7 separate regions of the Homo sapiens genome follow, and all the other regions are linked to region 1. Evidence: promoter capture Hi-C in 16 types of primary human blood cells and fetal thymus (Javierre and others, 2016). All regions are on one chromosome and are shown on one strand. Each heading gives the region's core, a stretch centred on a gene start or on the middle of the fragment in contact. The rest is flanking DNA. Distances are from core to core; before and after follow the strand shown. Region 1 holds the start of SMAD7 (SMAD family member 7). Region 2 overlaps DYM (dymeclin). Region 3 overlaps CTIF (cap binding complex dependent translation initiation factor). Region 4 overlaps DYM (dymeclin). Region 5 overlaps CTIF (cap binding complex dependent translation initiation factor). Region 6 overlaps CTIF (cap binding complex dependent translation initiation factor). Region 7 overlaps CTIF (cap binding complex dependent translation initiation factor).

The links. The method cuts DNA at HindIII sites, captures the fragments that hold promoters and counts their contacts. A CHiCAGO score of 5 or more calls a contact.
Region 2: a fragment that was not itself captured here is called in contact with the fragment with the promoter of SMAD7 in region 1 in 1 of 17 cell types (M1 macrophages); the score reaches 5.0 in M1 macrophages.
Region 3: a fragment that was not itself captured here is called in contact with the fragment with the promoter of SMAD7 in region 1 in 2 of 17 cell types (M2 macrophages and M1 macrophages); the score reaches 8.6 in M2 macrophages.
Region 4: a contact is called between a fragment that was not itself captured here and the fragment with the promoter of SMAD7 in region 1, in 3 of 17 cell types (M1 macrophages, M2 macrophages and endothelial precursors). The highest score is 6.4, in M1 macrophages.
Region 5: a contact is called between a fragment that was not itself captured here and the fragment with the promoter of SMAD7 in region 1, in 1 of 17 cell types (M1 macrophages). The highest score is 5.1, in M1 macrophages.
Region 6: a contact is called between a fragment that was not itself captured here and the fragment with the promoter of SMAD7 in region 1, in 13 of 17 cell types (M1 macrophages, M0 macrophages, M2 macrophages and 10 more). The highest score is 8.6, in M1 macrophages.
Region 7: a fragment that was not itself captured here is called in contact with the fragment with the promoter of SMAD7 in region 1 in 11 of 17 cell types (naive CD8 T cells, total CD8 T cells, M1 macrophages and 8 more); the score reaches 10.1 in naive CD8 T cells.

The regions. Positions count from the first base shown.
Region 1 is chr18:48,949,225-48,953,527 of GRCh38, reverse strand. It overlaps SMAD7 (SMAD family member 7), which reads left to right and starts at 2,563. Exons shown (of 4, transcript NM_005904.4): 1 at 2,563-3,716. The coding sequence starts at 3,104. RefSeq lists silencers at 480-819, 1,390-2,089, 3,306-3,625. The HindIII fragment of the contact is 3,263 bases long and covers 2,156-4,303 here.
Region 2 is chr18:49,196,687-49,200,989 of GRCh38, reverse strand. The region is part of intron 14 of DYM (dymeclin); the gene reads left to right. Among named protein-coding and RNA genes, the nearest start is that of MIR4744, 150 kb to the right of the region's middle. The HindIII fragment of the contact is 3,156 bases long and covers 528-3,683 here.
Region 3 is chr18:48,718,085-48,722,387 of GRCh38, reverse strand. All of the region lies in intron 7 of CTIF (cap binding complex dependent translation initiation factor), which reads right to left. Among named protein-coding and RNA genes, the nearest start is that of MIR4743, 50 kb to the right of the region's middle. The HindIII fragment of the contact is 9,652 bases long and covers 1-4,303 here.
Region 4 is chr18:49,180,467-49,184,769 of GRCh38, reverse strand. The region is part of intron 14 of DYM (dymeclin); the gene reads left to right. Among named protein-coding and RNA genes, the nearest start is that of MIR4744, 130 kb to the right of the region's middle. The HindIII fragment of the contact is 6,459 bases long and covers 1-4,303 here.
Region 5 is chr18:48,750,295-48,754,597 of GRCh38, reverse strand. The region is part of intron 7 of CTIF (cap binding complex dependent translation initiation factor); the gene reads right to left. Among named protein-coding and RNA genes, the nearest start is that of MIR4743, 82 kb to the right of the region's middle. The HindIII fragment of the contact is 530 bases long and covers 1,674-2,203 here.
Region 6 is chr18:48,768,496-48,772,798 of GRCh38, reverse strand. The region is part of intron 9 of CTIF (cap binding complex dependent translation initiation factor); the gene reads right to left. LOC107985147 (a long non-coding RNA gene) reads right to left here. Exons shown (of 2, transcript XR_001753444.2): 1 at 1-4,303. Among named protein-coding and RNA genes, the nearest start is that of CTIF-AS1, 71 kb to the left of the region's middle. The HindIII fragment of the contact is 1,840 bases long and covers 1,570-3,409 here.
Region 7 is chr18:48,787,991-48,792,293 of GRCh38, reverse strand. The region is part of intron 9 of CTIF (cap binding complex dependent translation initiation factor); the gene reads right to left. Among named protein-coding and RNA genes, the nearest start is that of CTIF-AS1, 52 kb to the left of the region's middle. The HindIII fragment of the contact is 9,280 bases long and covers 1-4,303 here.

The DNA of each region.
Region 1 (4,303 bases), core at 1,314-3,813:
GCGCGCGCCTGTAGTCCCAGCTACTCCGGAGGCTGAGGTGGGAGAATCGTTTGATCTGGGGAGGCAGAGGCTGCAGTGAGCCGAAATCGAGCCACTGGACTCTAGCCCGGGTGAAGAGTGAGACTCTAAAAAAAAAAAAAAAAAGAAAGAAAGAAAGAAAAAAAGATTCTTTAAAGCCCCCAACGAGTTTCACTGCTGGCCTGATCTCACAATTCTCAATGGCTTTTTAAAAAAATCGTATTTCACTGAATATGAAGTGAGGTTAGATCACCATGCCAACTAGTGGCCTCATCAATACTGATGTGTGTGTATTTAAATCATTACGTTTCTCGGAGCCATCAGCTTTCACGCTGTAAATGCGTTTATGCCCTAGCAATGCCATGCCCGTTTCTATGCAGTAACCCGCCAGCTTGGGTATATGTTTCTTCGGGACCTGGGGTCAAGGAATAAACTCTCTGACTCTAAGCACCTTGAAAGCTACGAGGCCCAGAAACAGGGCCTGCATGCAAATGAATGCCCTAGGCAGGTCTGCTCGCTGGGTAACCTTCCCGCGCCGGGAGGCAGGGTGGCGGGTGGCGGAGGTCTTCCGGGCCCGGGAGGAAACCTGCCCGCGGCGCGCAGGCGAGCCCCCACCCCCGCTCCCCTTCTCCCGCCGGGATGCTGCCCCTCACAGCTCGTCAGCCGGCCAAATGCATTCCAGAGCTGTGCACAAGACACACTTCTCCAGGCAGTCCTAGAAACCGGAGCCCGGAGCTGAGAGGGCGGGAGGGAGCGCGCGGCCGCCGCTGAGGTCATATTCACGCCGCCTCCCCGCCCTCGGCGGCTGTTCCCCTCAGCGCACACTTCCCAGGGCCTCGGTCCAGTCCGGTATAAATGTCTTTTAAACCGAGACAGCGCTCTCCTCCCCTTGCCCTCGGGCGCGGCCAAGGGATCCACCGCCAGGGCCTTTAAAACAAAACCAATGAATGAAGCGCTAGGGCGAGCGCGCGCGAGATGGCCACCGCGAAACCCAGCCGGGTCGAAATCGGGCCACCGACCCGCTCGCTCAGCTCCAAAACTCGCGGCGAAGCCCGCTCGGTGCTCCCTGCTTTTCCAATTTCTCCATGGCTCCGGCCGGGGCTCAATCCATTCTGGGAGCTTCTCTGCCCCCCACCTATCTCTCTCCCCTCCATCGGTACCCCCTCTACAGACCCGGGAGGGGGTGGCGGTGGCGGGGGGTTGGGGGGAGAAATAGCTTTTAGAAACCCGATCTGTTGTTTGCGAAACACAATCGCTTTTTTTTTTTTTTTAAAGCGACAGGGTGTCTAGACGGCCACGTGACGAGGCCGGAGCCGGGCGCGCCACTGCGCAGTGGAACCAGCCGAGCAGAGGGCCGGAGGGGGGGTGCGGGGGGGCGGGGAGGAGGCGGCGCGGCTGCGGCGGCTGGGGGCGGGGGAGGGAAGGGGGAGGAAGGGGGAGGGAAGGGGGCGGGGGCGGGAGGCCTTGCGGGAGGCGGTGAGCCCCGGGCACACTCGCTTGCTGCTCGGCGCACGGAAGATCCTGTCCCCGAGCCGCGCCAGCCGAGCCAGCCGGGCGCCGTGCTCGGTCCGCTCGCCGCGCGGGAGAGAGCTGCCCGAGACAGAGCCAGTCCGTCGGCGCCGAGCCGCCGAGCGCCCGGCCCCTGAGCCCCTGAGTGCGGCGCGGCGAGCCCCTGGCGGCGGCAGAAGGACCGGAGCGCCAGGAGAGGGCGGACCGGGGACAAGGAGGCTCCCGGGCGCGACGAGGAGAGTCTCGGAGGAGGAGGCGCCGAGAGGACACCGGGGCCTCCTGCCGCCGCAGCTGGGTCGAGGCGAGCAGCCCATGCGGGGAGCCTCGGCGGCCAGCCGCGGCCAGGGGAAGGGACATCGGCGGCCCCTGCACTAGCAAGCAGCTTGTGCCCGGGGGGGGCGAGAACGCGCGACCCGTCTGGGGCCCTCCGCCGCCGCCGCGCCACCCTCCCCCGCGCTGTCAGCCCCGCCGGGCTCAGCCGCCGCCGCAGCATCTTCTGCCCCTGCGCCCGCGCCAGCCTCGAGGAAGTCCCCGCCGAGGACCTGGGCCCCCAGGAGCGCAGGGGGAAAGACCAGAGACTCCCCTAAACCACCCAGATGCGCAGGATTGAAGCGGTCTAGCCAAAGCTTTCTGTGGATTAAAAAAATACACGATTTTTTTTTTTTTTTTTGGCAGAAGAAAAGGAGAGGAAGACCAGCGGGGCTTTGCAAGGAAACGGGGGGATGTAACTCGTGGATACATTTTTCCACCCATCAAACATCTTGTTATACTTTGTAAACATTTTCTTTTTTTAAACCCCAGTTCCAGCCGGACGCCCCCAGACCTCTGAGGTTCGAGGAGGTGGTGGTTTTCATTTGGGGCTTTGCATATTTGGTTGTTAGGTTTTGCGAGAGCCTTCTTATTTTGCCAGACGTCTCATGCGGGGTGAAGTCCACTCGGCCCCCTCCCCTGAGTCTTCGTGTGCGCGGAATTCGAGGAGATCCGGTTACTAAGGATATAGAGGAAAAAAATAAATCGCTTGCTTTTTTTTTTTTAATTGCCTGCTTCTCCCCACCCCCAAATTAAGTTGCTTAGCAAGGGGGAAAGAGGCTTTTTCCTTCTTCCAACAGCCCAGCCGAACGCCTTTCGTTTTTTGCCCCCGCGGACCTTCCATGTAGGAAGCCGAGGCTGGCGAGCCCGACATTCGGGAGCCACTGCGGGGGGGCCTCTTTTTGGGGAGGCGCCGACGGGGGCAGGCTCGGCCGTCCCCAGGGAAGCGGCGGCCGGGTTCCTCCGGGGCGCGCCGGGGCCGGAGAGCCGCGCAGGGCGCGGGCCGCGCGGGGTGGGGCAGCCGGAGCGCAGGCCCCCGATCCCCGGCGGGCGCCCCCGGGCCCCCGCGCGCGCCCCGGCCTCCGGGAGACTGGCGCATGCCACGGAGCGCCCCTCGGGCCGCCGCCGCTCCTGCCCGGGCCCCTGCTGCTGCTGCTGTCGCCTGCGCCTGCTGCCCCAACTCGGCGCCCGACTTCTTCATGGTGTGCGGAGGTCATGTTCGCTCCTTAGCAGGCAAACGACTTTTCTCCTCGCCTCCTCGCCCCGCATGTTCAGGACCAAACGATCTGCGCTCGTCCGGCGTCTCTGGAGGAGCCGTGCGCCCGGCGGCGAGGACGAGGAGGAGGGCGCAGGGGGAGGTGGAGGAGGAGGCGAGCTGCGGGGAGAAGGGGCGACGGACAGCCGAGCGCATGGGGCCGGTGGCGGCGGCCCGGGCAGGGCTGGATGCTGCCTGGGCAAGGCGGTGCGAGGTGCCAAAGGTCACCACCATCCCCACCCGCCAGCCGCGGGCGCCGGCGCGGCCGGGGGCGCCGAGGCGGATCTGAAGGCGCTCACGCACTCGGTGCTCAAGAAACTGAAGGAGCGGCAGCTGGAGCTGCTGCTCCAGGCCGTGGAGTCCCGCGGCGGGACGCGCACCGCGTGCCTCCTGCTGCCCGGCCGCCTGGACTGCAGGCTGGGCCCGGGGGCGCCCGCCGGCGCGCAGCCTGCGCAGCCGCCCTCGTCCTACTCGCTCCCCCTCCTGCTGTGCAAAGTGTTCAGGTGGCCGGATCTCAGGCATTCCTCGGAAGTCAAGAGGCTGTGTTGCTGTGAATCTTACGGGAAGATCAACCCCGAGCTGGTGTGCTGCAACCCCCATCACCTTAGCCGACTCTGCGAACTAGGTGAGAAGTTGTCCCCCTACCCCCAACATTTTCCGGAGCGCCAGTGCTGGAAGAAAAGCCCCTAGGGCAGTGCGTTTGTGCAGCCATCCCTCCAGGGGGAGTGTGCATACCCTCCTGGGAGAGTGTGCATACCCTCCTGGGAGAGTGTGCATACCCTCCTGGGAAGAGACTGGGGGCTGAAAGTAGAGAAGGGACAAGGGGAAACTCAAAGGGCATTCCCTGGGGGTTCCCTTCCAGGTTTTCTCCTGTGTTGCCCCGAAGGGGTCTACGGGCACTGCTCCTGCAGTCTGCGGTTAAAAATTAGACGCCTTCATTTCCGGATCAACAAGGGGGTGCAGAGGGAGGTGGGGGGGTCACGCCTCCCCGCACCCGGAAAGACGTTGAGGTGTGTGGCCGAGTTGGATTTGGTCCAGGCCCGCCAAGGAAGGCTGGGAGAGGCGTGCTATAAAGGCTGGAAGGTCTCCGTATTTACTCCTTTAGTAAATACGGAGAATCACGTCGAACACCAGTGGCCCAGATACTGTCGTGGCCGCGCACCTTTGGAGTTTTGGGGCAAAGAGAGTTGGATGGAAGGCCGAACTGGGTAT
Region 2 (4,303 bases), core at 856-3,355, 250 kb before region 1:
TTTTCCAGCCATACAATGCAATACAAAGAATGGCGATTCAAGAGATCTGTTTCACAACATGGTGATTATTGTTAATAACAATGTATTGTATACATGAAAATTGCTAGGAGAGTAGATCTTTAAGTGTTCTTACCACAAAGAAGTATGTGAAGCAATTAATATGTTAATTTGCCTGATTTAATCATTTCCACAATGTATACATATATCAAAACATCATTTACATCATAAATATATATAATTTTTGTCAATTAAAAAATTTAGTAATGAAGATAGTGGATTCTATAAAGAAATATGCTAGAAGTATTTACCAAAAGTCATTAAAATGTTAATATATTGGAATTTATCTTAAGGGAAGAACTTAACCTAAAGAAAGGGTTATATTTAGGAACAAAATAGAAGAATGGTCAAATAAACTATATCCTATCAACTCAATGGAATATCATACAGCCATTAAAATATTATAAAGAAAAATAAGTAGAAATATGGAAAACATTTGACATAATGTTTATGAAAAAAGAATATAAGCTTCTATACTGCTATTTTCTATTTTTAGTAGTTATATTTGATATAATGTTTAATGAAAAAAATATAAAATTATATACTGCTATTAAAACAACTACATAAAAATTATGTATGTGTCCAAAAACCAGATAATGTATAAAAATAGCTGTGGAACAATAGTAAAATGTACATGACATTTCTTTTTAAAATTATTTAAAATTTATCTTTTACAAATTAAAAAAATTATGCAAATTTAAATAAATTTTTTCTCTCACTTTTCTCTACCCTCCTCCCAACCACCCCTAAGTTACATGTATGTCTTTGGATTTTCTTTCCTTTTTTCCCTCTACTAACATAATGCAATGCCACTTTATTAATTGGCAAAGAACTGCGGTGGTTTACAGGATTAGATAGGAGTTCCTCAGTATGATCACAGAGAATTTCTCCCATGGTTTATTTTAGAACTTTCATAGATTTGCTTTTTTTCTTCTTTTTTTTTCTTTTCTTTTTAACTGAATGGATTTATAATTCTAAGTACGTGTAATATGAAATCATTTTTATATCTCAACTGTAGCACTTTCAAATTTAGGAATACTTTTACCCATTTGTCATGTCTTTTATACTGTGCTTTAAAAAAAATCACATCTGGTGCCATTTTATTACTTTCAAAGGATTGCATCTTCAGTCTAAATCTAAGACAAAGCTCTAATGAGTTTCCTCAAAACAAGTTTTAAAAATTGCTGGAATGGTCTTGTCATATAATATGCTATTCACTTAATCTGTAATGAATAAATACTTGAAGCTATAGTAATAATTTTTCATGCATATGATACTGTCGTAATAATTCTGTTGTGGCTGTGCTTTATTGATTTCTGTGCCACTTCTGTGGCATGAAATGAAATGTATTATCCCACTTAAACCATTATGGTTTCCTTTTGAATTACATATTCATTACTTGATCCTGTCATCAAGCCTATTCTATTTTCCATAATGTGGTATTCAGTCTTAAAGATTTACAGCGTTAGTCAGTGCAGTATAAGTCAAAATAGGACAAGTAAATTCAGATCAGAAAAGTTGGTAAGAAAATGTAATAGATAAATTTTTTTATTTAATTATACTTTAAGTTTTAGGGTACATGGGCACAACGTGCAGGTTTGTTACATATGTATACATGTGCCATGTTGGTGTGCTGCACCCATTAACTTGTCATTTACATTAGGTATATCTCCTAATGCTATCCCTCCTTTCTCCCCCCACCCCACAACAGGCCCTGGTGTGTGATGTTCCCCTTCCTGTGTCCAAGTGTTCTCATTGTTCATTTCCCACCTATGAGTGAGAACATGTGGTGTTTGGTTTTTTGTCCTTGTGATAGTTTGCTGAGAGTGATGGTTTCCAGCTTCATCCATGTCCCTACAAAGGACATTAACTCATCCTTTTTTATGGCCACATAGTATTCCATGGTGTATATGTGCCACATTTTCTTAATCCAGTCTATCATTGTTGGACATTTGGCTTGGTTCCAAGTCTTTGCTATTGTGAATAGTGCTGCAATAAACATACGTGTGCATGTGTCTTTATAGCAGCATCATTTATAATCCTTTGGGTATATACCCAGTAATGGGATGGCTGGGTCAAATGGTATTTCTAGTTCTAGATCCCTGAGGAATCGCCACACCGACTTCCACAATGGTTAAACTAGTTTACAGTCCCACCAACAGTGTAAAAGTGTTCCTATTTCTCCACATCCTCTCCAGCACCTGTTGTTTCCTGACTTTTTAATGATTGCCATTCTAACTGGTGTGAGATGGTATCTCATTGTGGTTTTGATTTGCATTTCTCTGATGGCCAGTGATGATGAGCATTTTTTCATGTGTCTTTTGGCTGCATAAATGTCTTCTTTTGAGAAGTGTCTGTTCATGTTCTTCACCCACTTTTTGATGGGGTTGTTTTTTTCTTGTAAATTTGTTTGAGTTCTTTGTAGATTTTGGATATTAGCCCCTTGTCAGATGGGTAGATGGCAAAAATTTTCTCCCATTCTGTAGGTTGCCTGTTCACTCTGATGGTAGTTTCTTTTGCTGTGCAGAAGCTCTTTAGTTGAATTAGATCCCATTTGTCAATTTTGGCTTTTGTTGCCATTGTTTTTGGTGTTTTAGACATGAAGTCCTTGCCCATGCCTATGTCCTGAATGGTATTGCCTAGGTTTTCTTCTAGGGTTTTTATGGTTTTAGGTCTAACATCTAAGTCTTTAATCCATCTTGAATTAATTTTTGTATAAGGTGTAAGGAAGGGATCCAGTTTCAGTTTTCTCCATATGGCTAGCCAGTTTTCCCAGCACCATTTATTAAATAGGGAATCCTTTCCCCATTTCTTGTTTTTGTCAGGTTTGTCAAAGATCAGATGGTTGTAGATGTGTGGCACTATTTCTGAGGGCTCTGTTCTGTTCCATTGGTCTATATCTCTGTTTTGGTACCAGTACCATGCTGTTTTGGTTACTGTAGCCTTGTAGTACAGTTTGAAGTCAAGTAGCGTGATGCCTCCAGCTTTGTTCTCTTGGCTTAGGATTGACTTGGCGATGCGGGCTCTTTTTTGGTTCCATATGAACTTTAAAGTAGTTTTTTCCAATTCTGTGAAGAAGGTCATTGGTAGCTTGATGGGGATGGCATTGAATCTTTAAATTACCTTGGGCAGTATGGCCAGTTTCATGATATTGATTCTTCCTACCCATGAGCATGGAATATTCTCCCATTTGTTTGTATCCTCTTTTATTTCATTGAGCAGTGGTTTGTAGTTCTCCTTGAAGAGGTCCTTCACGTCCCTTGTAAGTTGGATTCCTAGGTATTTTACTCTCTTTGAAGCAATTGTGAATGGGAGTTCACTCATGATTTGGCTATAATAGATAAATTTTTAAAAATTGTTCTTCTAACTTAGTATGTTTCTGGTTTGGGGTTTTTCTTTTTTTCAAGAACCATGGGAGTGAATTGTTTACATGCATTCTAGGGGAGAGTAGAAGGCACATTTTGAGAAACTTCACCGCCTTCTTTACTTGACCTCAACAGATGAACTAGGTAGTACAGCCCCACCCTCTTTTGGCTTCTGTGACAGCATACTCCTGGCTTTCTTCCCCCCCTTTTGCCATTTTTTTTATGCTTTTTGGTTTTAAACATTAGAACTTTTAAAAAGCTTGTTCCTAAAGCCCTTTTCTGTACTTAAACTCTTACCTTAGCCATTTTCATCAATTTCTATGACTTTACATGACATCCACATGCCAATATGTTCCAAATTGATAGTCCAGCTGAAACTCTGAGCCCTTGTCCTGTCCTGAGAGCTGCCTTACTGTTAACATCAACACTCATACCTCACATGTCCCATCTCCCAAGAGAACTCTTAAGCTTTCTCCATAAACCTTTTCATCTCCATGAATGGTGCCTGTATCCGTCAAGTTGCTTCTGCCCACCATCTAAGAGTCATCAGCATTTTCCCCTCACCTGCTGTATTCATCCTCACTACATCCATTTCAGTTCTCTATCCAAAATATAAATCAAATCTCTACTTTTTTTTCTCTGTTACCACTGCCAGTCACCCTAGCTCAGACAGTCCTTATCACACACCTGGACTCCTACCTAGTCCTTTTCCTCAAGTTCTGTCACCCCACCCTCACCCCTAATTCCCGATCCAGCAAGCATCTTCATAGATTCTAAGTTACATGTATCTTCCTTGCTCAACCCTTTAGTGACTTTTCTTTGCCCTTAGGATGCTACATTCTCTAGCCATATCAATTGTGCTTTCTCTTCCAGGAGTTGCT
Region 3 (4,303 bases), core at 784-3,283, 230 kb after region 1:
AAAATTTAGCCAAGTGTGGTGGCACGTGCCTGTGGTCCCAGTTACTTGGGAGGCTGAGGTGGGAGGATCACTTGAGCCCAGCAGGTCGAGGCTGTCGTGAGCTATAATTGTGCCACTGCAACTCCAGCCTGGACAACAGAGTGAGATCCTGTCTCACAAAAAAAAAAAAAAAAAAAAAAAAGCACAGGGCCAGGAGTATGAGGCTTAGCCTAGTATGACTGTGTGCCAGATCTGGGGAAGGAAAAATATACACAGGGGCAGCAGGCATGGCTGCCTTTCTAGAACCTTCTGGACAGGGCACATGGGCTGAGCTGAAGATACACGAGACACTGGTTATTTGCACTGAAAGCCCTGGCCAGCCTCCAACATGTCTTTCAGAACTGTCTTTCCCATCCCATGGTTAAGGAATGGAATATCCCTGAGAAGTGTCCCTTTTCATCTTCACCTCGCACTCTCTCTAATACATTGTAGAGCTGAAATCAGAGCCCTATTTTATAGCTGAGAAACTGTGTACCCTTAAAGTGTAAGAGAATTGCTCTGAACCACACCACAAGTATGAAAATCCAGATTCCATGACTTCTGGTCCAGTGTTCTTTTCTTCCTGCACAGGAGTGAGTGTCAGGACAGAGAGGGGGGGATGCACGTTCTCTGAGGTTAGACTCAGAGCCGCACACAGGGTCAGGACTTCCCTCGTATCTGCCATCACATGGCATCTAATGGCATCCCTGTAGTCTGCACAATGGTGTCCTTGGGGACATAAGAAGAATGGTTTGTCCAGGGCCCAAGATCCCCTGGCTGGTGAGAGATGAGCTCGTCTTGAAGCCAGTGAGCCTCGCCCTGGGCCTGGGCTGCCCACCAGACACACTGTCCCCGGGGAGGGCTGGGCTGGCTTGGTGCCAGAGGCCAGGTTGCTTGGGGCTCCGGAGAGGAATGAAGGGTTGGGTGTTAGTGTTTGTGAGCCAATCCTCAAATGCCTAGCATTTCAGTAGAGACTAGACCTCTGAGGAGGAATGAAACCAGCTTGGGTGGCTGGTTCCCAAGGCGTCCATTCTACGTCCCATCCTAGACGCAGACCTTGGGGAAATGGCATTTATCTCTCCAGGGCCAGTTTCTCAGGGAGCAGCCCTCCTGTCCTGCAGGTAACTAGACATGTGCCCCTACGTCCTCTTCAGTCACCTTTCTTGTCATTGGGTCTCCCTTTGCTATTTAGGGCTTAAGGGGTCTGAAGGAATTCTAATTGCTGGGGAAAAGGGGATTATTGTGATCGAGAAAGAGTAGTACTCTGCTCTCCAACTGTGGGCACAGAACTAGGGGATGCCCACTGCCTGGTGGGCACAGGGGGTTCCAGGGCTCTGCCAAAATGAGCTGTAGGCAACCTCTTTTCTTACCCATTTGTCCCCCGCGTGGATGTGGGTCCCGATGGGAGAGAACCCCCAGAGCCTTGTATTCCCATGAAGTGTGATGCTGGGAGGAAGTCCTGAGCATGGGGATCGGGGGAAGGTATATCCCTCATGGGTGAGTTGTGGGCCAGCCTCAACAGGGCCACTCTCTGCAGCTTGTTCTGCCCAGGAGTGCGGCCTGAGGCAGCTGCACTGTGCAAAGGATTATTGGGACCATCATGATTTGTACAAAGCGTGGGGCTTTCTCTGGGTGTATCAGGGGCTCCATTTCAATCAAGCATGGACCTGGACATCTGGCTTGAAGAAATGAGCTGCTCTTCTTTTCAAGAGAGAGCCTGCTTGGGGGTGGGCGTGAGGGAGGAGGAGAAGGATCCTAAAAATAATTCTTATCTGACTCATTTTGCTTAGAATCTGACAGGGCTGCCTGCCAGGTGGGGGTTTGCCTGTCCCATTTTCTTATCTATCTTTAGCAGGGACTTAATGAGGGCAATTTCCTTGCTGGGATGGAAAGACAAACCGTGGGCAAAGTGAGCATAGATCTGTCTCGCGGTCCCTGGGCTCGGATGACAGGATGGCAATGACAGTCACTGCAGGGCTGAGCTGTCTGCGAGGGCCTCAGCAACAGTGGCATCCCAGCATGGTGCAAATGAAGCAGTGATAGGCTCAGTCAAACCATGCAGGACAATGACCACTGGAAGAAGCATCCCCCCCGTCCCCATCTCATCCCCTAGCGAAGCTACCACCACACACGAACAAGATAAATCACTCAGACCTAAGATCCTGTTGCCTACAACATACTTCTTTATCTTCAGCATCTCTCTACTCTGTTTTAAAGAGCAAGTACGGTCACTTCTCATTATTTATGGTAGTTGCATTCCATAAAGTTGCTGCAAATACTGAATTAGTGAATACTGAACTATTACTCCTAGGGGAAATGCGGGGTTTGGTTCCTGCAAGCCTCTGGTCACAACATTTTCACCACTGGATCAATACATAACCTCGTTTTGTATGTGTTTCTGTTTAAAGAAACCTTATTTAATACATATTGTTGATTTATTAACATTGAACTCACGGCCAACAGCACTATAACTCATGCCTGAGTGATGCTTATCTAACACACACATTTTCTCCGGAAGGCACATCACAGCCTCCTTGCGCTTAAGAACAGTAGACGGCACTTCAGTACTATGTTTAGGAGCCATTTAAAATAGCAAATTCACCAAGGAAAAGCACAAAAATGTGAAAAACATGGCAGTAAACAGAACCATGAGAAGGGTGCTTGCTTATACTATGAGAGCTGAAACAAGGAGGCAGAGTGTTACTTTGGCCTGGACTGGGATCTTGCAGGTCAGGCAACTCAAATTTTTCACTGTTTGTGTGTCAATGACTGACTGCAAAAACACCATGAGTATTGAGTGCGGTGTTACAAATAAGTTTTACAAGTAGGCGAATGTGCAAATATGAATCAATGAGTAATAAGGATGGACTGCACTTCCAAAAGAGCTATCTTAACAACTCATGTGAATGAGCTGATGTATAGATATAGGACTCCGACTAGGTTAATTCCTCATCAGTTCCCGGTGGGCAAGATCTGGGGGACCTGGTCATTTTTGTAGGATGTGGGACTCTATGACTGGTAGAGTGTTCTGAGGTGCTAAAAGGAGCAGCAAGTTCCAGATAGCAGCTGTGACTTAAAGAGAGGGATGTCGAGAGGCACTTGGTATCCCCCAGAGTCCTTGCCCATGAGCCCACATGTGAAAAGGAATGTGGGGCCTCCTGTAGTCACAGATGACCATCAAAGCCTGGGATACAGAAGCCACAGCAGTGTCAAGGAATGGGGCTTAAAAATATTAAAGACAATTCTAGAAGCATATTTTCGTATTGAGAGTGAGAAGTCAGAGGGACACATGAGGCTACTGATGGGGCAGACAGCGTAGAATTAAGAGGTGGCAAAAAGAAAGCAGACCTCTCCCACTCCAAGTTTGCCTTCTGCAAGAGAACAGGTACCAGCCCAGAAAAGGCAGCTGCAGTTGCCGCATCTGTCAGACGCTGAGGGCCTGGAAGACTCCACGGAGAGCAATGGGTGCTCTGAGTGCTCACCTTCATGCCTCGGGAATGGGGCGATATTGATATTGATTGGAGTAAAAGAAATCTTTACATGAGGTCATAAATGGCCCCTGACCATGTCTGAGGAATCCTGGAGAACAGATATAAGGGTTAATTTCATGTCAACCTGACTGGGCTAGGGGGTGCCCAGTTAGCTGGTAAGACATTATTTCTAGGTGTGTCTATGAGGACATTTTCAGTCAGTAGACTGAGTAAAGATCTCTCTCCCAGTGTGGATGGGCACCATCCAATCCGCCAAGGGCCCAAACAGAACAAAAGGCAGAGGAGGGGTGACTTCACTCCCTCTTCTTGAGTGGCGACATCCATCTTCTCCTGCCCTTGGACATCCCATGCTGTAACACATGGTATGCTTACGGTCACGCTGGGAACCTCATACATGCTCCTGTTTCTTGGCCTTCGGACTTGGGTTGATTACACCACTGGCTTTCCTGGTTCTCTAGCTTGCAGCAGATGGCAGACTGTGGGACTTCTTGGCCTCCATAATCTCATGAGCCAATTCCCATGATACATCTCTCTCTCTTCCTCTCAATATATCCTATCAGTTCTGTTTCTCTGGAAAACTCTGAATAATGCAACAAAAGTGTTAGAGACTGTAGCTAGGTATACACAGTCTAATTTTCAAAAATTGGAAAAATATGGATATCATTTCTCCAAAAGAGATTGCCAAACAGATGGTTTGGAAGAAAAAAGGTGACCACTAATAGCTAGCACAGGTTCACACAGACCAAGTCATGGCCAGACCAAATCTATGTCCTTTTTTGAAACAGTTACTAGCC
Region 4 (4,303 bases), core at 1,177-3,676, 230 kb before region 1:
AAATAGAAAATTCGTAAGTTTTTAATTGTGCACTGTGCTGCATAGTGTAATTAAATTTTGCCGTGTCCCACCTGGAATGCGAATCATCCCTTTGTGTAGTGTATCCCTGTTGTATATGCGACCTGCCCATTAGTCACTTAACAGCCATTACTTAGCAGCCATCTCAGTTATCAGATCAAAAAACCATAGTATATATTGGGTTTGCTACTATCCATGGTTTTGGGAATCCACTGGGGGTCTTAGAATGTATCCCCCGTGGATAAGGGGGGAATACTGTATTGCTGCAGTATCTCTGAACTCTGACTCTGTGATGGAATAAGGGTTTGCACTTCTCTACTACCTCAGTAACCCAGTCCTTAGGGAATTGAGCTTTCTTTTATAATTAGTTTGCTTGTAAGAGAACTTATGGAATGTCTAATCTTAGTTGGGAGTGAGTTGTGGCCTTGGCTAAGGATGAAGTGACAATACTCTTTCAAGCATAGCCCTCTGGAGAAAAGGCCACTTCCCTTCCCCCGCCAAAAAAAAAAAAATTTTGTTTTTTGTTTTTTTGTTTTTCCCAACAGAAGAGTTTTTACTACTGGAGACCCAAGAGCCCTAACTTGCTTTTTAGTGGGAAGAGAGGAACTGCCTCATCTTAAACACATCCCTATGTATATTAGTCAGCTCAGGCTCATAACAAAATACCATAGACTGAGTGGCTTAAACAACAGAAGTTTATTTTCTCACTGTTGTAGAAACTGGAAGTCCAAGATCAAAGTGCCAGTAGGGTGGGGTCTAGTGGGGTCTGGTGAGGGCCCTCCCCTTGGGCTGCAGATGGCTGCCTTCTCACTGCGTGTTCACAAGGCCTCTTCTTAGTACGTGCACAGAGAGAGAGATCTGTGGTGTCTCTTTGTATGGAGACACTAATCCTTTTGGGTCAGAGCCTCACCCTTATGACCTCATTAACCTTAATTATTTCCTTATTCCAAATACAGCGATACTAGAGGTTAGGGCTTCAACATAGGAAATTTGGGGGAGACACATACATTCAGTCCCTAACACTGTGCATCCCAAATTATTTCTGAGTTCAGTTCAATTAAATAAACATTTTTTGAGACCCTGTTAAATGTACAGGCACTACGCTAGGCATCAAAGAGGCAGAAGTGAACTATCCCAGGCTCAAGAACTTAATATTTAGTGAAATAAAATGTATATAATTAACTTGAAAATGTGGTAAATATTTTTCTAAGCTACATTTTGAAGGGTGAATCGAAAATTGCCAGGCAGGTTTGTATAGGGGAGGGAAGTGAGTGTAGGCCAAGCAGTTAACGGAGGAACAGAATGGAGTGTGCAGGAATGATGAGCGGACTGATGTGGAGTGAAGTAAAGAGTGATGGGCACAAATTTAGAAGTGCAGGACTGCCTTGTGGTGTTTGTCCTTCCTGATGGTGCCACAACGTTTTCTGGAAAAGTAGCAAGTACCTAATATGTTGATTTTCACAATGAAGGATAAGTTTTAAAAGACTATCAATGACTGGCATTTACAATCTACAATAAGAGACTAGTTGTGCAAATAAAATACAGTGATACAAATCACTTAATTAGTGGGATTAGGTGAATAAAATTTCCCCTCAAATACGTAGTGTTGTATTTAAAAAATCACAGTGAAATTTAAAATACTGTGGTTATCAGAGATGGAAAAAAAATGTGCAATCACCACTTCAAGTAAGGAAAAACATTACATTAAAAATCTTTGGTTTTCTCCAGTGTTCCTTAAGTTTCTACGTAAAATATCTAAAACTGTGGGGTTTTCTTCACACAGATGTTCAAAAATCACTATTCACTTCCAACCAAGATAGAGTAACAGAGACTGGATTTACCCTTCTGCCTGAAACAACAACCAAAACAGACACAGTATATAGAACAGGGACTTTGGAGACACTGGGCATCAGGCAACAAAAGAAACAAATCCCTGAGAGATGTTAGCAATTGAGGGGAGCCCTGTGAGTATTGAGAGTTCCCAGACCACTGTTCAGAATTATAGCTAATAAGCCAACAAATAGAATCATAAAAATACTCAACCCAAAAGAAGGCAGAAAAATGGAAAAAGGGGAAAAAAAGAATCAATAGGACAAATGGAAAACTATAGCAAAAGGATAGATATAAATGCAACCATATCACTAACACCAGCAAAAGAAAGCAGGAGGGACTTATCAGGCAAAGTGACTTCAGAGAGGAAACATCACCAGAATAAAGAAAATTATTTCATAACAATGAAGGAATCAGTGTATCAAGAGGACTATTATAATCCTAAATGTGTACTTTATAACATACACATTTGAAGCAAAAACTAATAAAATTGCAAGGAGAAACAAATTACAGTTATAGTTGGAGCTTTCAATATATCTTTGTTATTAACTAATAGAAAAAGTAGACAGAAAATGAGTAAGAGTGTGGAAGACTTAATGCTATCAAACAACTTCACCTCGTTGACATTTATAGAACACTCCAACCAATAACAGCTCCAGCCAAAACATTTGCATAGGAACATTTGCCAACAAAGACCATATTCTATGCCATCAAACAAGTCTCAGTAAGATTCAGGTTATAAGATTCAAGTCATGGAAAGTTTGTTTTCTGACAACAATGGAATTATAATAGATATCAATAATGGATAACTTTCTGGAAAATCCCCATATATTTGGAAATTAAATAACATACTTCTAAATAATCCATGAATCAAAGAAGAAACCAAAAGCGATTTTTAAACTAAGTGAAAATGAAAATGGAACATATCAAATGTTGTGGGATGGCTGCCACTAAAGCAGTATTTTAAGGGGAAGGTATAGCCTGAAATGCCTATATTGGAAAGAAAGAAAGATCTCAAATCAGTGACTTCAGCTTTCACCTTAAGAAACTAGAAAAAGAACAACAAATTAAGCCCAAAATAAAATAAAAATAATAAAAAGCAGGAATCACTGATATAGAAAACAAATGCAGTAGATAAAATTAAAACCAAAAGCTCATTCCTTGAGAAGATCAACAAAAATGATAAACCTTTGGCCAAGATTGTATGTGGAGTAATTTTGGGCTGTATCTTGAACATATGATGGTTACACAGATTAGGTATCCCTAATCTAAAAATCCAAAATGCTCCAAAATTCAGAACGTTTTGAGCACCGACATAATACTCAAAGGAAACATTCACTGGAGCATTTTGGATTTCAAATTTTTGGATTTGGTATGTTCACCTGGTAAGTATCATGCCAATATTCCAAAATTTGCAGGAATTCAAAATTAAAAACACTTCTGGTTCCAAGCATTTCAGATGAAGGAAATTCAACCTGTATTGTGGGGACTCTGGACAATTCTATTATAAACCAGCTGGTTTGTGTCTCGTAAAACAGAATAACATGTTCTCTTTACTGGGGGATCAAGGATTAAATTAAAATGCATTTATGTAAAAATTAAAGATTTTTTCATTGGCATATAAATATAGTTCTGAGTGATCTCAAAATCATGCTGTTCCACGGAAACATTCATTTTGCTTTGGGTTTCTCTCATAAATCATCTTAACTTTTATCCTTGACTTTTTCTTACCAGAGCACATCTCTTTTGTTTAAAATACCCATCTAACTCCAACACGACCTTGACTCTAGATGGTTTGCTGCATTTCATGACGTGGTATTTCCAGTGATTCTCCAAATCAGAAACTGCATACTAACGGCCTGCAGCCTGGACTCAGGCTAGAGAGGTGCTGTGTTTGGTTTGCACAGTTTTTTTTGTTTGTTTGGTTTTGGTTTTTTGAAGTTAGAATTTGTTGCTAACATATAACAAGTTGGAATAGCTGGCAATGCAGAGCCCACAGTCCTCCATGCCAGAAATCAATTGGAACTGAATGGTGACTTTTTCCATAGGTTCTCTCTTAAGGGTTTTTACATTAATTCCCTCAATTTAACCATCACAGCAACTCTTAACTGCCACCATCATTATCACCAAGTATAAGGAAACTGAGTCTCAGAAAAATTAAGTGTCAGAAATCCCATGAGCTATTAAATGGAGGAGTGGGTGTTTAAATACAAATGTGTCTGAATTAGCCTATATTCCTTTCTGCATAACATCAAAAATGAGGTTATTTTATCTTTCAGTTGAAAAATCATTGGTATCCATAAATATTATATGATGCTAGCTGTAGTGCCCCAGGTATCAAGTTTATCATGTTAAATTGTGCAAGGTTAAAATTTACAATCATTTATCAATTTTCTTTAAGTTCCTTAATGTGGAGTTTACCATAGGCTACTTTCTCATTTCTAGAATATTGACA
Region 5 (4,303 bases), core at 689-3,188, 200 kb after region 1:
ATGGAGCTAAATGGCAGATGGAATCAGCTGGGTGAGCCCTGGGAGGGCAGGGAAGAACCCAGATGCCACTGGAGGAAGAGGCACTAAGACTGTCCCTCTGTCCTCCCTTTTCCTTCTTCCTGCACAAGGCCTTGCTTAGTTCTCAGGGTGAGTGATTGCTGGGACTGGCCTCTGTGTGCAGGCAGGCCAAGAACCTTTCTTTCCATTCGACAGATAAGACAACCGAGGCTCCGTGAGGTGCACTCCTACAGCAGAGGGCCTGCCAGGGGCTCCAGGAGTGAGCTAAGCCTGTCAACTAATCACAGCACCTTGCAGCCACCTCCCATCTGTCTCCCATTCGCCTTTAGACACAGCCTCCTTGGCTGATGAACACTCAGGGACAAGGACCGCAGTGACCTGTAGTAATGGAGACAAAGGGCTGAATGGCCACTGAGACCTCGGTGGTGATAACTGCATGAGGTCCAAATTCTTTGCCTGAGAAGGAGCCAAGAGGGCTGCTAAGGGCACTGGAACAGACTTGGAGTTAGGCCTCGTTCCCCAGCAATGGAGACCTAGGCTTCCCTGCTCTGGCCATTCACAAATATTTGTCAGCGGTCGTTGGCTGGGCCAGCCAAAACCAGCTCCTCTCTCTTCTGTATTTGCTGGCGCTGGGTTTCGTCGATACCTTCATTCAGGGGCCAGCTGGCTGCTCCCCACGAAACCTGCGGGTTTGGGGTTTGGCTGGGCCAGGGATGAGCCGCTTTTGCTCCCAGCAACCCGGCAAGGAGGCTGCACTTGGTCTCAGACACATGGACATGTGGGTCCTGGGTTGGGAAACATACTGGACACCCAGTTTTGCAGCCCTGCAAGTAAGAAGGGCAAAAACCCAACTCTCTGCCTCTTTATTTCTGGGGAAGTCTTCTTCGGGTGAGGAAGAACAGCACAGGAGATAAGATTAATATTCCATTTGTGCTACTGGCAACACCTGCTGTTAGGAAAATAATGCTTTTTTTTTTTGGAGAATGGAAATTGTCGGTTTATGCTTTTTCCATCGTTCATTTAGTTTATTCTTTATTCTTTGGGTTCTGAAATCAGATGTCTTGTTTTACTCTAAGACTGCTCTCTTTTATACAAAAAGACAAAAATGTTCTCGGAACACCACAGCTGCATTTTGGGAGGTGGGTGTAGGGAGAATAACTTCAAATTTTGTTTAAAAAAATGGTTTTAACAGCAGTCCAAATGGAGACAAATGTCCCTCTGTTCGTTTTTTATTTCATAATCGTTCCCAACTAGATATTCTGAGTGCCACTGACTTATTATGGTTCTCTCCATGTCGGACATTTTACCACATAATTTGTAGGTCTGCTTAAAAATTTCTGAAAGCAAAATTCCTAGGGCAAGTGGTTTTAAAACTATGCATGGGCTCATATTTCTTGCCTTCAGGAAAAGTGATGACTGCTTATTACCAGCGTAGGCACCTCCACTCCTGCCCACCTACACATGCCCTGAGTGAGCTCTGCCTGCCCTGGCCCAGTCACCTGGGACAACGCAAGGGTTGCGGTGAGGCTCGGAGGCACAGGCACCAACAATTTCTCTGCAGCTCAGGGGCTGCTTAGTCGAGCGATGGCATATAGGACCCAGGAACAAAAGTCGCCACACACACCCACCCCAGTTTGCAGAATGATGGGGAAGCTTAAAAAGGAAAAGTATAAGGGAGGGGAGGTTTTCTTCCCTCATGAGGGAGTCAACCAAGGGACATCATGGTATTGGCTGATGAACACTCAGAGACAAGGATCACAGTGACCTATACTAACGGAGCACCCATGGTGCGCGCAGGGCTGATTCGGATGATGGGTGTCCCCCGCAGGACACTCCTTGCCAGGTCTGTCTGGGGTATGGCAGCCTGCACAGAGCCTGGCACTGTGCCACTCACAGTTGCATGGGCTGGGTGATCTCACCTCTCTGTGTCTCTGTTTCCAGATGTGCCAGTCCCCACCTGAGGGGCAGTTGTAAGGATTACATGAGTCACAGCATGACGGATGAGAAAACCAAGGTCCAGAGAGGTTGCTTTGTCCTTCTAGGGTCGCCCCGCTAGTTAGTGGCAAAGCCCTCACTGGAACTCAGATTTGTGTTTTTGCTGTAACACGCCATATGACTGGATTTAACAATTACTTATTGGAGATCTCAGTGCTCTTTGGAGAACTGGGGGCATCGCTACAAAGCTTAGGCAACACACGGGCCCTGTAATTGCCAGAGCCATCATTATCATGATGGCGGCAACAGCAGCACTGGGCCAGCTACTTCCTGAGCACTCCCTCCTAACAACGCTGAGAGGAGAGGGCCAGCATGCATCAGAAACACTCCTGCCACCGTGGGCGGCCAGCCAAGCTGCAGACTCCCCCACTCCAATAGATTTTGTGGCTCTCTTTGCTCAGAGTTGGGTAGAAAACAATTCAAGATTGAGGTCTTTGCCAGCCTAGGCAAAAGTTCATGTAAGAAGTGTGGTAGCTCACTGCATGGACTAAAAGCTTTAGAAATCAGATGTTTACCTCGCCAAACGATGCTCTGGAATAGATGAAAGGTCTGATTGGTACCTCTGCACCCTACAGGCAAAGACTTTTCTCACTAACTGTAGAATGAATGAATGAATGAATGAATGAATGAATGAATGAATAATAAATGATGCAGAGAAAGGCTGGTTCATTATTGTTTCATTAATTAAACACATGCTGAGACTCTGTTCTGCCCAGAGGTTAATCAGAGATGTCAGTGGGTTTGCCTGAGGCCACATAGCTCCTGCAGCCCTCTGAGAGAAGTTGGGGTGGAGGCAGGGTGTTTGTGTGACAAAGCTGTTCAGCTGTCCCTACAGAGTCCTTCAGCACTCCCCTAATCCTATCCAGGTCTTAAGGTCCAGACCTGAGCAGGAGCCTTCCCCAGCTCCCAGGGTCCTGCCCGAGCCCTCCAGACTCCTGATATGATTACAGTCTGGAATGCCCTACATCACACCCACGTCTCTGCCACCAGAGTGTCTTGTGTGTGCCTCTGAACTGCTCCCAAAGCATCCACTTCCTTCAGATGAGGCAGAACCTTCTCTCTATCTTCCTTGTGGTCTGGGGAGGGGAGGTAGCGATGACTCCAGCGCACAGGGCTGCTGCCTTCATGAAGCTGAGGGTCCATTTGGAGAGACAGATGTGAATCTATTAGTTACAGAAACAGGTCTCTAGCTTTATCCCAGGACAAGAATCACGAAGGAAAGGAAGCAGAGAGCAGCACAGGCCTATGTTCTACTCTGGCCTGGAGGCAGGACTGGCCACATAATGAGCGGAACCCAGTGCAAGATGAAAATGTGGGCCCCTGGTTCAAAAGCTATTGAGAAAGTCAAGACAGCCATATTGGAGCATAAACCAAACGCAGGCCCTGGACTCGGGCAGTTCACACACTCTGAGGGTGGTCCTGAGGCCACAGGACTCAAACTCACATCACAGGGATGCAGAAGAATGGTTCATAGCTAGCATGTAGGAAGCAGTTACAGTAAGCCAGGCATGGCTTTCGTTCAACCCCAAGAGAGGAACTATTGTTCACTCCATTTTCCAGAGAGGTCTTCAAGGCACAGAAAGGGTAAGAAACTTGCCCAAGGACACACAACTTGCACCAAGCAGAGCCTGGGTTTGAACTTATATAGTTTGGCCCCGAATGTGTGCCCTCAGCCACCACACTGAGTGTTCTGAGAGTGTAGGGCAGCTTGCACACCATTGCTGAGCCACTAAACCCAAATTCAGAGGACCACAGGCCTCAGCCAAAGTCAGCAAGGAGGGAGCTGTGGGCTGTCCTATGGCAGCGTGTGGTGCAGAAGCAAAGGCGGAGGGCTGAGCCAGGGCCCGCTGGGAATGGGGAGGCCGGGGCTGGTGAGGGGAGAGCCTGGGAGGGCTCTGGATGGGAGGGTTGGAGATCCGGCCAGCCAGCCTTGGCTCCACTGCGTCTCGGGAAAACCACAGAAGCCACTGCAGCCCTTGGTTTCCATCTGTGCTGGGAACAGCCCTTTCCCACCACAGTCTGCTGGTTCCTGTGGCTGGGGCCTGTGGGGCAGGGCTCGGGGATTGTTTTTCGGGTGGCCCCTCTGGCTTCATTGCTGCCTCGTGGGGAAGGGAGGAAAGCGTGCAGACTCCTGCCACCTTCCTCCATCTTGCGGCAGCACAGAAGGCCAAGGGAAAAAGGCTTTCTTGGGGATACTCTATGGGGTTCTGAGCTTCACTCAACTGCGGACCCATTTCTGAGGCCTCCCCTCAACCCCACTGGAAATCCAGGGCTCTTGGCCCACATTGCC
Region 6 (4,303 bases), core at 1,240-3,739, 180 kb after region 1:
TGCATGCTCCTATCAGCATGAATCACAATAGTCAAAAGGTGGAAGAAAATCAAGTGCCCATTGACAGATAAATGGATAAACAAAATGTGGTATAGACATAAAATGGAATATTAGTCAGCCATGAAAAAGAAGGGAATTCTGACACATGAATAAACCTGGAAACCATGATGTGAAGTGAAATAAGCCAGGCACAAAAAGAAAAATATTGTATGATATCCCATGTGTGCTATTTGTAGAGTGGGTGAATTCATGGAGATGGAAGATGGAGGGGAGGCATTGCTGTAGGGGAGTTATTGCTGTAGGGGAGTTATTGCTGTAGGGGAGTTATGGTGGGTACATGGCTTTTGTTTGGGGTGATGAGAGGGTTTGGTGGGGTGCCGGGGGATGGTCATGGGCATTGTCCAACATTGTAGGTATGCGGGGTACTGCTGAACTGTGCACTTAAAACTAGTTCAGATGGTGAATTTTATGGTATATTTTACTGCAATAATAATTTGCCAAAAAGAAAAGAAAAGAAAAACAGTAACAAAGCTGTCCTGCCCTCTTCCTCCTCTGTGGCCACTCCCTCCCGCTAGGTTTAGCTCTCTTCTTGCTATAATACTGGGGCAGGCCTCTGAGCTCCTTAAGCATTTTCAGGAAACACCTTGGCGCCATGCACAGGCTGGTTCCAGAGGAGGACCTCAGATAACGCAACACTATTTTCTTCCTTTTGAAAGAGTGACCCTCTGTGGTCTCCTTCCTGCCCAGGGGCCACTGCTCTCTCTTGGTAGTGGCTGGGAGCCTCCCTGGGGAGCCAGGGACAGGGCGGTGAGCAGTTACATAACCCGCAGGGAGATTTTTTCCATCAGCCCAGGCGGTGCCAGCTTTCCAGCGGCAGCCACGGCAGGTAGAGGCGCCCTGTCTGGGCCGGCCGTGCCCGGGCAGGGCAGAGATGCTGCGATCTGGAGCCGCTTAGCATAGCTCAGATTCCCCGCGGCGGCTGGGGGCCGGCCGCTCACAGAGCTGGGGGGAAGGATCTGCTGTCTCCTGCCTGCCTGGCTCCGGGGAAGGAGGAGGAGGAGGTGCTGGGGGTGAGCTGCCAGCCAGCCAGGGGTGACCCTCTGGGGCCTGGGACACCCGAGCTGGCCTTCTCCGGTAACCCACTTATCTGCAGGGCCTGCTTCGGCGTGGCAGCCTCAGACAGGGCAGTGCCCGGCCAAGTTCTATCAGGGGATTTAGCAGGGAAAATGAACCCTGGGTGGGGGGTGAGGGCATGCAGGGAAGGGGACACGGTCTGGCAAGGGACACGGGTGATGGTGAAATAATTCCTGACCTGGGTAAAGCTCTCCTGGCCCAGAAGCGAGAGGGAGAAAACCCCAGGCCATTCCCTTTTGTGGCTGTGGCCTGTGCTATTCCCATGCCTGCCTATCCATGCTCCTTCCTCCCCAGTGAAGGAAGCTCCTGGAGCCAGCCAGCTGATGCCTGATGAATACCTTGTGGGTACCAGTATGGTGGTGGGACACAAAGATGACCCAGACGCATTCTTTGCCCCAAGACATCCACAGATACAAGTCTCAGATAAGAAAAGCTTAAACAGGGGAGCCCAGAAGACTTCATGAAAGGGACACATGGTAAATGTTCAAGAGTCAGAGGAAGGTGAGGTCCCTGGGCTGGGAGATCAGGGAAGGTTTCCTGGAGGAGGCAGATTTGACTAGGAGGAAGAGTACACCTGTCAATCCTGGGCCCACCGCCCAGGAAGACAATAGTCTAAAAGCACTCATTGCCTGCCCTCATTGTTCCACATTTAATCAGCGTAGGGGGGGGAAATGGAAATGCTGCCCAAGACTGAGGCATGGGGTGGTCTTTGGGAATCTAGGATGGGATAAAGTTAGAAGGGCCTCCCAGTTCATCCCACCAGGGCAGGGCACCCACACTGATGGAGCCATCCGAGTGGTGTGGCTCAGAGCTGGGGTCCGTGCATGCATTACCTCATTTAAGCTCTACCACAACCCAATCATCCCTTGCAGGACGGAAACGTGGGTGCAGAGACATGTTTTAAATGCTCAAGATCAGCATCGAGGCAGCAATCGATGCTACTGCACAGGTTTGCTACTCCTCAGGCCTCAGCGTTGCTGCCTCAGGGCAAGAAATCCTGTCTAGAGAAATGAGATTCGGGGGCACGACCCACACCTGTCTGCTCCAGATGGCCCAGCTGACCTGATTCATGAAGCTGCAGGCTGGTCTTGCTCTCCCCTCCTGAGCCACCCACGCTCCTAACAACACAGGGCAATGGCCACTTTTCACGGGAAAGGAGTGACTTTTGTCCAAGGCTCCCTCAGCCTCTGCACATCTAGAGTCTCTGACAAGGCCTGCAGTAGACTGCCCATGAGACTTGTAAAAGCCCATGCCGTGCACAGAAAGGCACTTTGGGCTTTCTCAGGAGCGGGGCTCTCTGTGATTTTGAAGAACACAGTAGTGGCGCAGTGGCGCAGTGGCACAGTGGCGCAGTGGCAAAGAGGCAGGAAGCTGGGCACTTGGTTTTGCAGGAAGCTCACTGGTCCCTGGGGGCCTGGGGCAGTAGTTGGCACAGCAGCAGCACCCAGGCCCCCCTGATGATATGATGACTGGACACCTGGCATGCTGCTGTTCTGGGCACTTTCCAGGACTGGCTGAGGATCAGTGGTCATTTTCTTTCCTCGCTTATTTTCAGATTCAAAAATCAAAATGCTTGTTTATGATCCGGTCATCGGCTGCTCTGTCTCACTGAGCACTTCAAAGCTCCAGAGAGAACCACAGGCTTAGCACTCCTGGAAGCCACATGTTCCCCCGCCCCACCCAAACTGAACAGTCAGGGCGATCTGGTCTAAGCACTGACATTGAGGTATCCCACCTGGGTCCTTGAATGCAATGCTTAAGATTTGCACAAACAGATTGAAAGACCACAGTGGAGGGCAAATGAACAGAGACATACAGGACCTGCCACAGTGCATGGTATATAGCAGGTGCTCAATAAGCGTTGAGAAGAAATAAAGATTGGAGAAAAGCAGGTCATATTTACTCATCCCAAAGCAAGTGCAGACAACAAGATTGGCAACGAGGCACACGGCTCCTATCCACTGTGGCTCTGGCCGCAGGGGCAAAGAACATGGATAGGAGTCAGGCATTGGCTCTTCCTGTTGGGGGAGCCCAGGGCTGCCACAGAATCCTGGGCAGGGGTCAAGCTCCTGTGACTGCTGGCCTCCTGTGATGCCAGGCCAGCCTGACGAGGCCTGTTGGTGCCCACCTTCAGGGAAATGTGTGTGCCAACTCTGCATGTCCCTTGCAGGGCACGGGCTTCAGCATGGGGACAGATGGCCCACAGGGGGCAGGGCGGGAGCTCAGATGCCAGCCATTTTTAGAAAAACAGCCCTTTTCTGGGCTTTTGCAAGCTTCCGTGCAGCCTGCCCACGGGGAAAGCGGCTTGCACTGCCTCTGGCCCTTTGCTTCAGCCTTTCTGATTTCTAGCAACTAGTGGAGGGGAGCTCGATGTGGGTATGGCCAGGGCTTTTGCTCAAGCTTTGGAATGCACAGAACAATGTGCTTCTATCCCTGGGTGTGCCTGGCTTGGGCCAACATTAAAATTAGTTTACATGCCTGGAGTGCACATCGGCTCAGCGGTGGGTGTGCAGAAATGAGGGAGGGGGTCTGAGAAGAGGGAGAGGATGCAAGGAGGAGATGGGAACTGGGGCCAGCAGCCTGTGTGGTTTCACAGGGACTAGGGCGAATGGAGAGTGCAGGGGTTTCTTCAGGTACCCTTGACCTCCAGAGGCCCAGAAAGCTCAGAGACTCAGCGACCCCTGGAAACACAGTGGGATTATTCCACAGGGTGGATTTTGAAATCCCAATTGATGACTTCCTGAGATGGATTCTTTTTTGTTTTTTAGAGTCTCACTCTGTCGCTCACACTGGAGCGCAACAGCAGGGACCTAGCTCTCTGCAGCCTTGACTCCTGGCCTGAATGGATCCTCCTGCCTCAGCCTCTGGAGTAGCTGGGGCTTCAGTAGCAATGCTGCCACACCTGCCTATTTTTTTTTTCAAAGATGGGGTCTTTTTATGTTGCCCAGGCTGGTCTCAAACTCCTGGCCTCAAGCAATCCTCCTGCCTTGGCCTTGCAAAGTGCTGGGATTACAGGCATGAGCCATTGCTCCCAACCATGATATGGATTCTTGATTTTCCCAAGTTTTTGAGCCTTACACCCTATTTAGGATGTGGCATGGCATCCAGAAGCTCCAGCTAGCCTCGTGATGCTGGGTCAATCTTGCAGCCTCACTGAGCCACTTTCCCC
Region 7 (4,303 bases), core at 530-3,029, 160 kb after region 1:
GGACTTCTTGCAGTTCTCCCATGGGGCAGGCACACTCCTGCCTCTGGGCCTTTCACTGCTCTTTCTCTTTGACCAGGATGCTCCCCAGGTCTGCACGGCTCACTCCTTCAAGCCTATCCAAGGGTCACCTGGGTGAGCTCTTTTCCAATCACCCTATTTAAAATTGTCCCCCAACATGCCCTGCTTCCTTCTCCACAGCCTTTTGGAAATTTACTTATTTGCAGATCTGTTGCTTTGATGCTTATCATCCCCTCCTCGCTAGAATGTAAGCTCCATGAGGGCAGGTTGCTGAGTCTGTCTGTTTGCTGCTGAATCCCACCATAGCCCAGGGCCTGGCACGTGGTAGGCCTTGAATTCATGGAGTGTTGAATGAACAAAGTTGCCTAAAGTTTGGTTAGAGAGACAGGAACAGACCCAAGAGATGACACTAAGAACACCAGGTGGCAAAAGCTGAGTGCCCAGTGAGGGCACAGATAGACTCCAGCAGCCTGGGTGATCAGGGAAGGCTACAGAGAGAGAGAGATTAATCTGGGAGAAGGGATGACTATGAACAGGTTCTGCTGACTCAGGGAAGACACTCACTAGAGAGGCATGGAGGAAGGTGATAAAAGCTACGGTTGAGACGGGGCAGGCTGCTTGGGGCAAGGAGATGCTGTGATTGAGGTGCTGGCCCTCAGGGTCTCTGGGCAAGCCACAGGCACATTCCTGTGTCCACAAACTGGTAGCTCCCACTAAGGGGAGCCCCCAGGGCCAGGCTGAGGCTGGGTGGGAGGGAGGGGCTTCCACTCAGCTTGGGGGCTGGGGGTAGAGGCTGCCCAACCCTGGGCCACTCTCTTCTTTCCTCTGAGTTTCTGGTAGCCCTGCCTGTGTCCCTGCCTGTCTATCCAGAGCCTGCCTTTCTCTTAAAGAAGGAAGGAAATGAAAAAAGAAAATGAAGTGAAACCATGAAAATGACTTAAAAGAGCTTGGGGCTCAGGGCTTGGGAGCCTTAGGTCTTCCATTCTGCTCTGCCTCTATCTTGCTATAGGGCCTTGGGCAAATCACATTTCCTCTTGGGCCTCAGTTTCCTCACCTGTCCAGTGTGGCTCTCATGGTCTGACCAGCCAGCATGCAGGAGGCCTGGGAGCTATCTGTGGACATGTGTCCCTCCTTTGGCCTGGTGTCAACCCCTCTCTGGGCCTGAGCCACAGTGTAGGGCTTGTACAGGGCCTCCCCTTCCTGCCCCAGGTCTGCTCATGACCTCAAAGACAGAGACATGACATTCCTAGGAGGTCTGTTCTGGGTGCCAGGACTCTCCTGAGAAGATGGAGTGAGAAGGTGGACAGGTTTGGGGGCTGAGGGAGAGCAGGGATTGGGGGAAGCTGGCTAGAGGAGGGTCCATGGCCCAGCAGAAGGAGAAGGGCTATCCGGGAACCCCAGCAGGTGAGCCAGCTGACAGAGGCCCCAGGAGGACGTGTTCCCCAGCACGAGGTGGCCTATGACGTGCCTCTCTGATTTCCAGGGTGGCGACTGCAGGCGCCCGTGGCTCCAGCCGGGCGGGGTCTGAAGTGGGAACTTCAGAGCTAGACTTGGCCGCGTTCCTCTGAAATCCCTGGCCTGTGAGAATGAAGGCTGCCGGTCACGTCCTCCCTTCGTCTGCTCCTCCATGAGAGACCTGGCCTCAAGCCTCTGGCCGTTGAGGCCGCCCGTCCAGCTCCCAGTGCTTTCTTAGTCTTTCAGGAAATGTCTCCAGGCCTGGTGGGGTACGTGTGTCCGGGGGATGGGGAGGGGGCTGCTGAGCTGGGCCCAGGCCAAAGGGCTCCATGGGGCGTCCTGTTGGATTTGGCAGCCTGCCCCTTGGTGACTCATGCCTGCTGGCTGTCCCTTAGCCCCATGCCCCCTCGAACTCGGCACTCCAGAAACAGCCTTCTCCCATGGCCCAAGAAGCACCGCTGTAACTCCTTGCCATGGACCTTTGCTCACACTCCCTGCCTGTTGGACACTTCCTCTGTATTTAACCTTCAGCCAAGTGACCCTGGATGAGCTATTTCCCCAGTCTGGGTCTTAGAAAAGGAGGTGGCTGTACTCACAGAGCCTGAGATCCTTATTCCAGAATTTCCCTTTTTGGAAAGGTGGTTCAGCTTCTAGGCTTTCCTTCTCCAAAGGACATACGGTACTGGGGGCGGAACCTCTGTCCTCATTCTACTTCCATCCCTTCCCCAACACCTAGTAGGCAGCCTTAGGCTAACATGGGTTAGCTCCTTTCATCTTCACAATGGCCCCATGGCAATGAAGCTGTGATCATCCCATTTTATAGATGAGACACCTAGGACATAGAGAGGGGAAAAGTACCCTGCCCAAGGTCATGAGGTAGCAGGTGGCAAAGCCAGCATTCAAAGCCAGGGGCCAGGCTCTAGCATCTATACTCTTCACCAGTACCCTACATTCCTAGGAAGCAGCATGGGGTCTCTTATTAGTCTTCCCCACTAGTCTTAAGGTTCCTGAGAGCAAAAAAACAAAGCCCTTAATTTATACTTCTAATTTTGTTCTTTTTTCAAGATTCCTTTGGATATTGTAGGTTTGAGTTTCCATATATATTTTAGAATCAGCTTGCCAATTTCTGCCCAAAAGGCTTAATGGCATCTTGATTTGAGACTGTTGACTCTAGAGACCAATTTAGGAAGAAGTGACATCATACCAATACTGAGTATTCTAGTCCATGAATATGGTATGTCACTGATCTACACTTGACTGTATCTCCCTAGAGTTTCAGACAGGGCTAGACCTATAATATTAGTGCACACCTGATGAATCAAACTGAAATTAAAATTCCTTTCACTATTATCCCAAGCAAAGTCCAATTGAACCATAGCCAACATTATGAGCACTTATTGAGGGCCAGGGTTGTATTATGCCCTTTACTACATTATCTCATTTAATCCCCAGCAATCCAACCCAATCATTATTACCATCCTCATCTTACCAGTGAGGAAACTGAGGCTTGGAGAGAGTAAGAAACCCATTCAAGGTTACACAACTAGTCTGTGACAAAGCTGGGATGTGAACCCAGCCCTTATTGTCATCATGTTATAGGAAAATGAAAATCAGTGACTTTCCCTAAACCCGAAGAAAATGATTTGAGGCTTCTCTGTGATTTGGTACTTCCTGCCAAGGAAGCAATGGTTCAGAGGCCTAGAGTGACTGTACTAAAGGAAGATGAGGCTTGCAGTCCAGGAACATGTCCCATGGGTGCTGAGGGACCTACGTGCACACACCTGCTCTTTGCCACCTTCTTCAGGCTCAGCACAGCACACGTCCTCCTGAGTCTGCCCAGGGTCTCCCAGGCCTAAGAGGTGTGCTATTGGATGGTGGGAATGGGACAGTTTTGGCCATCGTTAACCAGACTCAGTCATGCTCACTCTGATGTCATAGTACCTTTCTAGCATCCGTGTCCACTGTTGGCCTACCTACACCTCTGGGCCGGTGATGAGTTCACACCCACCCTGTACAGAAGTACAAGTGCTTCTTCTCATTTTTTCTGTAGTGACCTCCCCAAGGGAGACCCTTGAGTTTCCCTGTGATGGTGAGAGGGTCTGTGTCCTGTTCCTATTACAGCCACACCTCTGTATTTCCCAGACTTAGGAATCTTATCTTCAAAGGCTGCCACTGTGCCTCTGGCTGTTCCCACTGCTCCCCTGACCTCCTCCAGCTCCATGAGCCCTTCTTAGTAACAAGGCCTCCGGGGGCAGGTATGTGGCCAGGCAGGGGAAAAATGCTTCAGGTGGTGTGGCCCTGGGATACAGGGAGATAGGAGGAACACAGTCACAGGATTCACTGCTGGCACTAAAAGGCCCTCAGTGGCTTCAGGCCACTTATTTACAGGTGAGGAAACCAAGGCTAGGGAGGAAGAGACAGCTTACCCAAAGCTCTCCTAGGAGTCAAGTGTCTGGAATTCTGGCCTGAAATGTTGGTGTCTGCCCCTCCTTGGGGCACCCCAATTGTGTTTTATGTGGGAAGTGCTCAGAATGAAGCTCTATACTCAAAGCTGGGACGCACTGGCCCCTGAGCATGTTTCCAGCTCAGGCTATTGCTGTTACTGATTCTTTCCTACCCCTCTTCTGGGAAAGAGACAAAAACCCCAAATTCAGGTTTCTTCTCCCCCCAGCCTAAAGGCTAGAGAGGGTCGGCCATCCAATTGTCCCCATGGGGATTATCACTGGGAGACTCTGAAAGGGGGGGTCCCAGCTCAAGGTCAGCAAAGCTGCTCTCCCTGAGCAGTGTTTTACAGGGAGAAGAAGTGCCTGGCCCCAGCCTCACCTCCCGC